3 separate regions of the Homo sapiens genome follow, and all the other regions are linked to region 2. The links are contacts of gene promoters, found by promoter capture Hi-C in human tissues and cell types (Jung and others, 2019). All regions are on one chromosome and are shown on one strand. Each heading gives the region's core, a stretch centred on a gene start or on the middle of the fragment in contact. The rest is flanking DNA. Distances are from core to core; before and after follow the strand shown. Region 1 overlaps TRAPPC9 (trafficking protein particle complex subunit 9). Region 2 holds the start of C8orf17 (chromosome 8 putative open reading frame 17). Region 3 overlaps TRAPPC9 (trafficking protein particle complex subunit 9).

The links. The method cuts DNA at HindIII sites, captures the fragments that hold promoters and counts their contacts. A contact is called where the count stands out against the background at its distance.
Region 1: a contact is called between a fragment that was not itself captured here and the fragment with the promoter of C8orf17 in region 2, in 2 of the 25 tissues and cell types used here (aorta and hippocampus).
Region 3: a contact is called between a fragment that was not itself captured here and the fragment with the promoter of C8orf17 in region 2, in 1 of the 25 tissues and cell types used here (dorsolateral prefrontal cortex).

The regions. Positions count from the first base shown.
Region 1 is chr8:139,766,744-139,770,370 of GRCh38, reverse strand. All of the region lies in intron 21 of TRAPPC9 (trafficking protein particle complex subunit 9), which reads left to right. Among named protein-coding and RNA genes, the nearest start is that of KCNK9, 65 kb to the right of the region's middle. The HindIII fragment of the contact is 9,949 bases long and covers 1-3,627 here.
Region 2 is chr8:139,929,300-139,933,075 of GRCh38, reverse strand. C8orf17 (chromosome 8 putative open reading frame 17) reads right to left here and starts at 1,656. Exons shown (of 1, transcript NR_172942.1): 1 at 1-1,656. The region is part of intron 19 of TRAPPC9 (trafficking protein particle complex subunit 9); the gene reads left to right. The HindIII fragment of the contact is 16,447 bases long and covers 1-3,776 here.
Region 3 is chr8:140,083,580-140,087,116 of GRCh38, reverse strand. All of the region lies in intron 17 of TRAPPC9 (trafficking protein particle complex subunit 9), which reads left to right. Among named protein-coding and RNA genes, the nearest start is that of PEG13, 15 kb to the left of the region's middle. The HindIII fragment of the contact is 6,549 bases long and covers 1-3,537 here.

The sequences.
Region 1 (3,627 bases), core at 754-3,253, 160 kb after region 2:
TGGAAAGAAATGTGAGTCTCAAAATGCGGGGAGCCACGGTGAGGACCGGCTTCCGGGAGCCAGGGCTTCTTCAGGTCGAGGTCCCAGCCCAGCATACAAGGTCGGGAGGTGGCAGCAGAACCTCTCTCCGGGGCGTCTGGGCTCCATTGTCACCACTGCCCTCTGAGCCAGGCTGCCAGGAGTAACGGGCTGGCAGCGCTGTGGGTGCCTTAGGAAATGAAGGGTCCTGAAGAGACCTGCAGTGCAGATGGGAGACCAGCACTCGGGATTGGGCTTTCGCTGGTGTCTGCCCAGGGTGGCCAGGGTCTTCCAGGCCAGCGCAGTCAGTGTGGCCCACAGGGCCTGGCCCACCACTGGCGGGTGGCAAAACCTGCCTGCCCCGTGCCCCCAGTTCCCTGCCTTCCCTGGGGAGTTGCAGGAGCTAGGGTCACAAGTGTCATATTCACTGCTGTGGCTCCAGGGTCCAGCACCCGGCAGGCACCAGATCCTAGATGCTGAGTAAATGACCACTTCCTTTATGTATTTCTTCTTCTTTTTAAGCATGTTTTAAACAATTTGTACAAATCAGTATAAAAGTAATTCATGCTCTACCTAAAATTTAGTGAATATTAGTTCTTCCACTCATTTTCTCTGACCTATGAGATCTAGGTTACTGCTTATTTTAAGCCTTTGGATCATTACTATTCAATCTTATTTTTATTCTTCACTTTATTTTTGTTTGTATTCTGTGTTTGCATTTGCTTCTTTCTAAAAGTATCTGGAAGTGCAGCAGTCCTCCCTTATCCTCGGTTTTGCTTTCCTTGGTTTCAGTGACCCTCGTTCAACCATAGATTGAAAATGTGAAATGGAAAATTCCAGAAATAAACAATTCGTAGGTTTTAAATTGTGCAGTGCTCAGAGTAGCATGGTGACATCTTGCCCGTCATGCCCTGCATCTCCCTTTGTCCAGTGAATCCACGCTGTGCACATTCCCCACCCTGAGCCACCTAGGAGGTGTCTGCCGTCAGATCAGCTGCTGTGTTGTAGTGCTGGCATTCAGTCACTCTTATTTTACTCAATTGTTCTTTTGTGTTATTAGTTAATATTGTAAGTCTCTCACTATGCCTAATACATAAGTTAAACTTTATCATAGGTATGTATGTCGAGGAAAAAACATAGTGTATATAGGGTTCAGTACTATCTGAGGTTTCAGCCGTCCACTGGGGGTCTTGGAACCTGCCCCCGAGGATAACAGGGTTACTGTAGTAGTTTTTCTAACAAAGCACTACAGACTGTGTGGCTTAGACAACAAAAAGTTATTTCTGACAGTTGTGGAGTCTCGAAATTCATAGAAATTCAAGGTCAAGATGTCGGCAGCACTGGTTTCTTCTGAGGCCTCGCTCCTTGGCCTGTAGACGACTGCCTTCTTCCTGTGTCTTCCCTCTGTGTGTGTCTGTTTTAATCTCCTCTTATAATGACACCAGTCCGAGAGGATTGGGCCCATCTTGGGCCTCATTTTACTTTGTATGTCTTTGAAGGCCCTGTCTCTAAATACATTCCCCCCCGAGGTATTGTACTGGGCTTTAGGGCTTCAACATGGGAATTTTTGGAGTCACGATTCAGCCCCTAACACTAGGTGTCACGTATGTTAGTAGACATTTAATAGAGCTGTACAAAGATTAGAATAAAAGTGAGCTATGAGCTCTGTGTTTAGATAACCCCTGTTGATGAATTAAAATGAAAACGGAAGTCATGCTCATTGTAGAAAACTAACAATTGGAGGTGAACACAAAGAAGAAATGGACTATTACCAGAAATCCCACCATCCAGAGATGGTGACCACTAACAGATAGGTATGCAGCTTTCTAGATGATTTTCCAGGTACATATTTTATTCAAAATTAGACATCACTGAAAATATGGCCAGGGTCTTCCAGGCCAGCGCAGTCGGTGTGGCCCGCAGGGCCTGGCCCACCACTGGTGGGTGGCAAAACCTGCCTGCCCCGTGCCCCCAGTTCCCTGACTGCCCAGGGAACTGCAGGAGCTAGGGTCACAGCTGTCATATTCACTGCTGTGGCTCCAGGGTCCAGCACCTGGGAGGCACCAGATCCTCAATGCTGAGTAAATGACTGCCTCCTTTATGTATTTCTTCTATGCTTTTACTTAATATGTAAAACTATGCTTTTACTTAATATGTTCCATGCCAAATCTACATGTAAATTATGATTTTTAATGGCTACATAGTATTCCTTTATGCAAATGTTCCAGAAAGTATTTAGCCCATCCCCCCATATTTTTGGACTATAGGGAGTTTTTAGTTTCTCAGTGTTACAATACTGCCCATATTATAAATCTGGCCATATTAATAATGTTGTATTATAAATCTGCCCATATTAACAATGTGAATAGACCCTGAGTCAAAGGGTCTGTATATTTTTCAAGGCTGTTTGCTACTTGTGAGGTTGCCCTCCATAAATATTACAGCTTTTAGACTCTAATCAGCCATGTATGAAAATATCCATTTCCCTTGACTCTTGCCAGCAATAGCTTTTATTTTCCTTAAAAATCTATGCCAGTCTACTAGGCCAAAAAGAATTGTGCTACAGTCTCTCAGCCTGCATTCTTTGATTACTGGAGAGGCCTGGCGCCTTGCCACGTGCTCATCAGTGGCTGGCGTTTCTTCTTTGATGAAGTGCTTGTCCTGCTTGTTATTTCCACTTCTCTGTGCAGAATCTGGGCCTGGCCAGAGGGGCTACTTGGTGCAGCTCAAGCCCAAGCCTCTACCTCTGCACCTTGGTTCATCTGTTCCCTCCATCTGGAATCTTCTCTCCCTCCCCCTTCCACCCCCACATGCACCTGCCAGCATGTTCCTCCTGGATCCGTCTCACCCAGCATTGGAGGCCTTTCACTCCCTCCCACTTTGTCTGGGACGGAGCCCTCGTGAGGACGGGATGCTGCCCTCGTGAGGATGGGATGCTCTGTGGGACAGCCATCCTGTTGGTGTCAGAAGAAACGGATCCTCCTTCTCTGGTAGCAGTTTGCATTTTCTACCCGTGTTGATGAACTTAGCTCACTTCAGAAAACACAGGCAGAGTGGGAAAAGCAAGGCTTTGGAGGCGCACAGACTTGGCTCACATCTGTGCTGTACCCTGTCTAGCTGTGTGATGTGGGCTAGTCCCTACGCCTCTCAGAGGATGCCTTATTTGTTATATAAGAAATAGTAATTCCTGCCTCGCCAGGTCTCCACTAAATCAGATGATGTGTAAAGCACCTGGAGCCATGTGGTAGCTGACACGTGGCCTTGTCATCATCAGGGTCCTCGTTGGCGTCCTCAGCAGGCATAGCAGGGGGCACAGTCCAGGGGGCATGGTCCAGCAACTGCCAGCCGGGCCCTGTGCCAGGGCCGCACTCCAGGGGCTCACAGTCATGTGGTGGGCACAGACATGCAGGTGAGGACGCAAGAGAGCATATGATAAGTGCTGTAGCCACAGGTCTGCGGGACGCACAAGACAGCAATTCCCTCAGGAGAACAGGGATGATTCCCAAAGGATGTGACATTCCGTTGGCTTGGGCCTTGAAGAAAGTGTTCTTAGGAGGAGCCAGGCGGGGAGCTCTTGTGGGCAGAGGGCTGAGCCTGAGACCGATCTGT
Region 2 (3,776 bases), core at 407-2,906:
GGGCTGGGGTCTCGAGAAGAGAGATGTTGCTCCCGGCGGGGAATGAGGAGATGCTTCTGGAAGTAGTGGCTTTTTTGCGCCATGCCTTGAAGAGAAAGCATTTGTGCACCGGAGCAGAGGTGCAGGGGCGTTCCGGGAAGAAGAGCTGTATGATTTTTTTTTTTTTTTTTACCAGCTTATGCTGTGGTAACAGACTATTCCTAAATGTCAGTGACTATAAGCATGAGTTGACATCTTCTTACATTACATGTCAACGAGAGGTTGGCTGGGGCCTTGGGACCCTGCCCTGCATGACAGTGCTTTTTTTTTTTGAAGACACAGTCTCATTCTGTTGCCCAGGCTGCAGTGCAGAGGTACCATCTCGGCTCACTGCAACCTCCACCTCTGGGGTTCAGGCAATTCTCGTGCCTCAGCCTCCCACGTAGCTGGGACTACAGGCATGTGCCAACACACCTGGCTAATTTTTTTTGTAAATTAGTAGAGACGGGTTTCACCATGTTGTCCAGGCTGGTCTCGAACTCCTGAGCTCAGGCAATCCACCTGCCTCGGCCTTCCAAAGTGCTGGGATTACAGGCGTGAGCCACCGCGCCCAGTGTCTACATGACATTTCTACCCCAGGAGTCAGGTCAGCCAACATCTTGTACTTATGACGGGAGAAAGAAAGGGAGCCATACCACGTGGTGGTCCAGCGTGCTTCTGATCCAGTGTGGCATATGTCACTCTGCTCAGGTCCCGTGGCCAAGGACCTGTGGCCAAGCCTGACATCCACGAGGTGGGGACATTCTCCCATGGTGGCTACCCTGAGCGAGGCCCCGTGGTGCGGGACTCCCTCGGCTGCACGGCGAAGTGGCTCTGTGGGCTGCCTGCGGGGCCTGCCTGGCTGGTTTCTCCTTGTTCCTCCCTGTAAGGTCAATGCTTCTGAGCACCAAAGCCCTGCCTTTGGGCCAGCACCCCGCCCTCAGCCGCACATCAACACCTCTGCGGCCTCTTCTATCTCCTTTTGAATTGTATTATTGCTCTTAGGTGCTCTTGTAATGCTGGACAAATTCTCTGTGAATAAGGGAAAAAATTGAAGCATAAATCATCCGGAGAGTAGCATTTTCTAATTTGGATGTGTGGCAAAACAACTCTGGGTGATTTTTATTCTTTATTTTCAACACAGAATTTCTCTGACAGGCCATCGTCAGCTGCTATAGAGCAATAAATCAGAGTCATCTTTTCCGGGTGAAATGGGCTTAATTTCTCATCCTTTTGTTCGTGTTTCCCTTCCTCTTCTACCGCATGGCACTTGTAATCCTAATGATGCTGTGATGAGATATGATGGTCAGAGCCTCAGACTTATCAGGATGGGCTGACAAATCGTGGAGATCCGCACTGGTCCCACACCCGCCTCTGCTCAGGCGGGCAGGATGTAGATCTGCAGACTGGACCAGCTCAAGTTGATAGCCCCGTAGCATGCAGAGAAAGGAGCACTTTCCAGACCGCGGGGCCCAGAGGCTCAGGTCCAAAGCTTTGTGTGACCTCTGGGCTTGGCTTTTTGTACAATGAGAGCTTTGGACTAGGTGGTCTTCAAGGTCAACTGTAAAATCCTTGACACCACAGACAGGGTTCCAGTGGGCACCTGCCTTAAGGTGCGTGCCAGCCTCTGTGGAAGAGTGTTCATCCTTCTTTCTAGGGCTGTGGTTGTGGGTGATTGCACTAGGAAAGACTTGCAGAAACTGTCATTGTGGATATTTGCCACGTCATTAACCTCAGTCTCCTCCTCTGTGAGATGGGGATGTCAGGATCCAGCTCCTATGGTTGCGGTGAGGATTACGTGTATGCTCGGCTCTACTGCAGCTGGTGTTCAGTGAGTGGCAGTTGTCTATGGTTAATATTCTCATTTTTCAGATTAGAAAACTGAGCCTCATGAGGTCGAAGTGTTTCCCGAGGATCTCACAGCTTGCGGTTATAGAGGTGGGGTTAGAATCATCTAGAAGCTCTTTTCCTCACCCCTTTGGGGCAGTTTGGGAGGTGGGAGGACAAGAGCCAGGGCCTCGGGGTTGCTTCCTGGACAGACAGGGAACAGGCTCCATGACCTGAGGGCTGATTCCAGCAGGGTGGGCACCCTGCATGTGCCTTTTTCCATACCTATGAAAGGGGGCACCACCGAGTGCAGAGTCAATGAGCTAATGCAGGTGTCCAGCGTACACTGAGCACTCAACAGTGTTGCTGTCGTCGTGATTTCATCCTCATAACCCTTGGGTGGCCCCGTTTTCGCCTCCTTCCCTGTTTTGAGCGTCTCCTCAGAGGGTCTCATCTATGAGACAGCGGTGGAATGAGGCTGGGTTTCTAAGGGAGCTCCAGCTCTGGAAGGCCGGTTACTAGGATTGGTTGAAAACGAAATCTCATTGCAAAATAAGTTCCCTCCTCCATGGGGCTAAACACGGGGGATGCTCCTTATTGTATTTGACGGGTCTAGAAGGATCAAGATGGCCTTTGAATATTAATCTGTCACTGGTACCATTTTGTCTGTTTGATGTCTAGGATGGAAAAAAGAGGGGTGTGACTATCTCCTGTCTGATGCGAGCATTGCTGCTTGGAAAGCAGAACAGAAGTCCCTTTCCAAGGCTTGGCTCTAGTCATCGACCCCCTTGTTTTCCCTGTGATCCTGAGCCACCCACCTGCCCTACCGACACCACGGGAGAAGTTGACTGGCGAGAACCGTGTTGTGTGAGCGCGCTGGCCTTGCCACTGCTCACCTTGGCTGTATCTTGTTCACGTTACACATCAACTCCCGGCTGGCGCAGCCCCACTGCCCCACACTATAAGCCTTCCCATCTCAGGAGTTGGGATGGAGGGGTAAACATGCATTAAGATAGTGCGTAGAAGGCTTAAGGGTCTCAGCTCTTCCTGAGTGTCACCCCCTTGGCTGTCACCTCTTAGGCATCTGGGAGGTCCCAGAAATAAGAGAAGTGAAGTTATGCTTGTTCAGCCCCTAGCATATGCCATTCACGATGCTCAATGTTTTCTTTAAATTACCTGTTCATAACAGAGAAGTGTAGAGAATCGGCAGAATCCACGCACAGTGCCAAACACGTATATTGATGGCCTTCTGTGTGTCAGGTGCTGCTCCTGAGGACTGCACCTACAAGGTGGTGCTTGCTCCATTTTACAGGACATGGAAGGGTCTGAGGCAGAGAGGGGCTGGGCTGGAGATGAGGATGGAAAGGTGGGGAGGGCAGACCCCAGAGGCCCATCCCAGCTTAGCCTGCTCTGCTGGGCCTTCCTTGAACACCTGGCCAGCGCTGCCCAGGCTTGCTGGGTGACCAGCCAAGGGACCTGAGTCCACTCCCCACACACCTATGTGTCGGGTGCATGGCACCATGGTTCCTGAAGCAGCAGGGCATATGCAGAAACATGGTTTCAGAAGAGGACAGTATTCTTCTGGAAGACCATGGAAGCCTGTAGCTCAGGAAGAAGCAGCAGGCAGCACGGTAACTCTGTGTGGAGAGAAAACCAAAGCCAAGAACTGAGGCTGCCCGAAGCACAGGACAGCTCAGCTTTTTTTTTTTTCTCATGATCCGCCCACCTCGGCCTTCCAAAGTGCTGGGATTACAGGCGTGAGCCACCACGCTCGGCCCCCTCCCTTTTTTTTTATTGTAAGCCTGGGACCACTGCTGTGTTTGAGAACGGCATTGCACTAAAGTTATTTCAAGGCACCTTGTCTTAACTCAAATGTATCAGACGTTATCTGTTATCCTGGTGACCCCAAGCTTTCAGTAGATTCATGTATT
Region 3 (3,537 bases), core at 114-2,613, 150 kb before region 2:
CCACTGGCTTTGAGATTGGAAAGAGTCATTTCAGAGGAGTAGGAGGATGGCAGGCTGACGGTGGCAAGAAGTAGAGCCAGCCCGAGCAGGCAGTGCTTGCAGGAGCTCTGCTGTAGAGAACAGGGAAACAGGATGGTGGCTGGAGGGAGGTGTGGGATGAAGAGAGGGATTTTTTTTTTCTTTTTTTGAGACAGTCTCACTCTGTTGCCCAGGCTAGAGTACAGTGGCGTGATCTTGGCTCACTGCAACTGCTGCCACCTGGGTTCAAGCAATTCTCCTTCAGCCTCCCGAGTAGTTGGGATTACAGGCGCCTGCCACTGCACCCGGCTAATTTTTGTATTTTTAAAAAAGTAGAGATGGGGTTTCTCCATCTTGGTCAGGCTGGTCTTGAACTCCTGACCTTGTGATCCACCCAGGATCCCAAGCCTCGGCCGCCCAAAGTGCTGGGATTACAGGCATGAGCCACCACGCCTGGCCGAGAGAGGGATGTTTTGAAGGTGGTGTTGGCAGTGTGTGATTGTGTGCACTGACAAGGATTGAACAGTGGAAGAGACGGGTGGAGCAGGACGGGATGGGGTGCCTGGGACCAATCCCCCAGAGGCAGCAGGAGCTGGGCACCAGGGCACAGGTGGAGCTGTGGCCCCTGAGAGCCATGGGGAGGCTGCTGCCCTCATCACAGAGGAAAGGGGCTATGTGGGGCTGCAGTGCAAAATTGTTGGTGGAGAGACGTGTCATTTCAACCGACTGCCTCACCTGCTCCCCTTCCATTTCTACCCCGCTTCTTCTGTCTCTTCTTGCCTCTCCCTGCTCCTTTCATCGTCTTCCCCTGTCCTTCTTCCTCTCCCACCATCTCCTCTCTCCCCTCCTTCTTCATCCTCCATACTCTGGGATCCTCTTGTACTTTCTTTGTGGTAGCACATTTCAAAACCTGTGTCTTTCACCCACACCATACCCGCTCTCCAGCACACGATCCAAGCCCTGGTTAGGCTTTGTTTCTGGTTTAGTCTTCAGGAGGATGGGAAGGATCTGGTAACCTGCTAGGTTGCCTTCTGCTTCAGGTGGGGAAAGTCATAGTTAGAAAATGGAGAAGTCTTCTTAGAGTTGTGTGTGCAAGTCTGAACGGCTTCATTTTTATTTCCTTCTGCCAGCCTACCCTTAGAAAAAACCACAGTGATTCCTAAGGGGGTGTGGGGTGGGGGGAAGCTATAGGCTTAGGGGAGAGTTCTGCCAGCACTTTGAAGAAGAAATGTTTATTTTTAACAATGAATCAGAGAAATGAGAGGCAATGCGTTGACAGAGATAGGCTGTGGCTCCCCATGTGGAACGCGCCAGATCGGGACACGATTACCCACAGCAGAGGCTGTCATCTGCTTTTGTAGGGGCAGGGTGGCGTGGACCTCAGCAGGCTGCTGCCGTCCATGACTTGCCCCTTTCTTCTCTAAGTGAGTAGGCAGAGCAGAAGGGGGATGCTCACTCTGAAATAGCAGAATTGGTCACCTGGTGGGATTGAAAGTCCTGGGCTCCCTCCAGCACGTCGGCTTCAGTGAACCCAGTCCTCAGAGCTTAGGCCGGGCTGCCTGACGGGGCTTCCCTGGCATTTCCATTCGAGAGAGGTTTTGGTGGTTCTCATTTCACAACAGAAAGAGCTTCTGCATGGAAAAGAAAGGATGGTTTATATTTAAAGAGAGAGATTTTATCAGGATGGTAAAGATACAAGAGGTTGAAATTTCTGTTTTTCAGTCTAGACCAGTGGTTTCCAAGCCTTTTTTTTTTTTTTTAAACAGTAAGATTCTTTCTGCAAACATACTTATGCAGCAGGAACCCAAAGTGTAAAATAAGGGCAAGTGGTGTAGTCCTGCTGGACGTGGGCGTGTGGGCTCGTGGAGCCTTCATCACATAGTCCACGTCACTCCTGTAACTACAGCAGGAGAGACTGTGGAGCGTCGGGGAACTCTCTTTTTCAAAGAGTCATGGGGCATGAGGTTTGCAAAAGGTGTTTGCAGTGAAACATGGAGCTCTGCAGAGTGTGCTCTCCCTGCACCCCCATCTCCACTCTCCATGAATCTGTACCTGGATTGGCTATAGATCACACAGATGTAAAGCTTTCAGAGTCGAGCGTTGCGAGCATAGGCCTCGGAGTCCAGCCTAACGCTCATCCCAGGCCTCTCCTCTTGGGCAAGTTACCATACCCCACTGGATATCAGTTTCCTGTCTGTAACAGGAGCCTAATGATACACTTACTCCAAGGATAGAAGATACCAGGCAAGAGCTTAGCCCTGTGGCTGGCACTTACTCATGCTTGGTAAACGTCTCCAAGGGAGGAAAAAGCTTATCCTACCCTTTGAGGTTTCAGGCCCCAGAGCCAGGGCTTTCTGACAGATGCATCACCTGGCTGAGGGGCCAAGGACCATGCCAGATCTTTCAGGATGCTGCTCACCACTGGGAGCCTTGGACAGTCCTGGGCCTGCCTGTCAGTCAGCAGCCTTGTCCTCGGCGGTTCTTGGGCAGAAGAACTCAGAAGGCGACATTAGCACTGGGGAAGTGATACATTCTGATTTCCATGCTGGCCTTTTAGAAAGGTAGGCTTGGGTCAGATCATGAAGGCCCTTGAGTGTCATGTGGTGAGCCTGGATATCATCCTATAGGCTACTATTGAAGGCTTTTAACCAGAGAAGGGACACGCTCAGCCTGTTTACCATGGATGAGGCAATTATATGTGGATTAAAACAGCTGGGTTCCCATCTGAGGCAGAAAGGAAGTGAAAGTGAGGAGACTAATAATATTTTTATTACCCTATCTATTTAGGATTTTTAAGTGGACAGTTTTAGATTTATAGAGATTTATTTTCATTATAGCAGTATAACATGTTTACTATAGAAGATGCTAAAATTGTAAGAATGTTGGAGGAAAAAAATTAACCATGGTTCCACTGCCCAGCCTCAATCATTGTATGTTGTTATTCCCTTTTCTATGCATAATTATAATAATAATAGCTACCATTTTCTGAGTGCCTACTCCATGATACATACTATTCTAAGCTTTTTATTAAAACAGTCACTTGGATGATGGTGCCTGTGAACAGCCACTGCACTCTAGTCCGAGCAACACAGCAAGATCCTGAATCTTAAACAAACAAACAAAAACCCAAGCCTGGGCCAGGTGCGGCGCTCATGCCTGTAATCCCAGCACTTTGGGAGGCTGAGACGGGCGGATCACGAGGTCAGGAGTTCAAAAGCAGCCTGGTCAACATGGTGAAACCCCATCTCTACTAAAAATACAAAAATTAGCTGGATGTGGTGGCCCGTGCCTGTAATCCTAGCTACTTGGGAGGCTGAGGTGGGAGAATCACTTGAACCTAGGAGGCAAACGTTGCAGTGTGCTGAGATCACGCCACTGCACTCCAGCCTGGGTGACAGAGCGAGACTCCATCTCAAAAAACAAAAACAAAAACAAAAACAAAATAACAAAAAAACACCAAACCCTTCTGTGGGTATTCTTTTCTCCAGTTTACACAAATAGAAATGGAAGGGCAGCGAG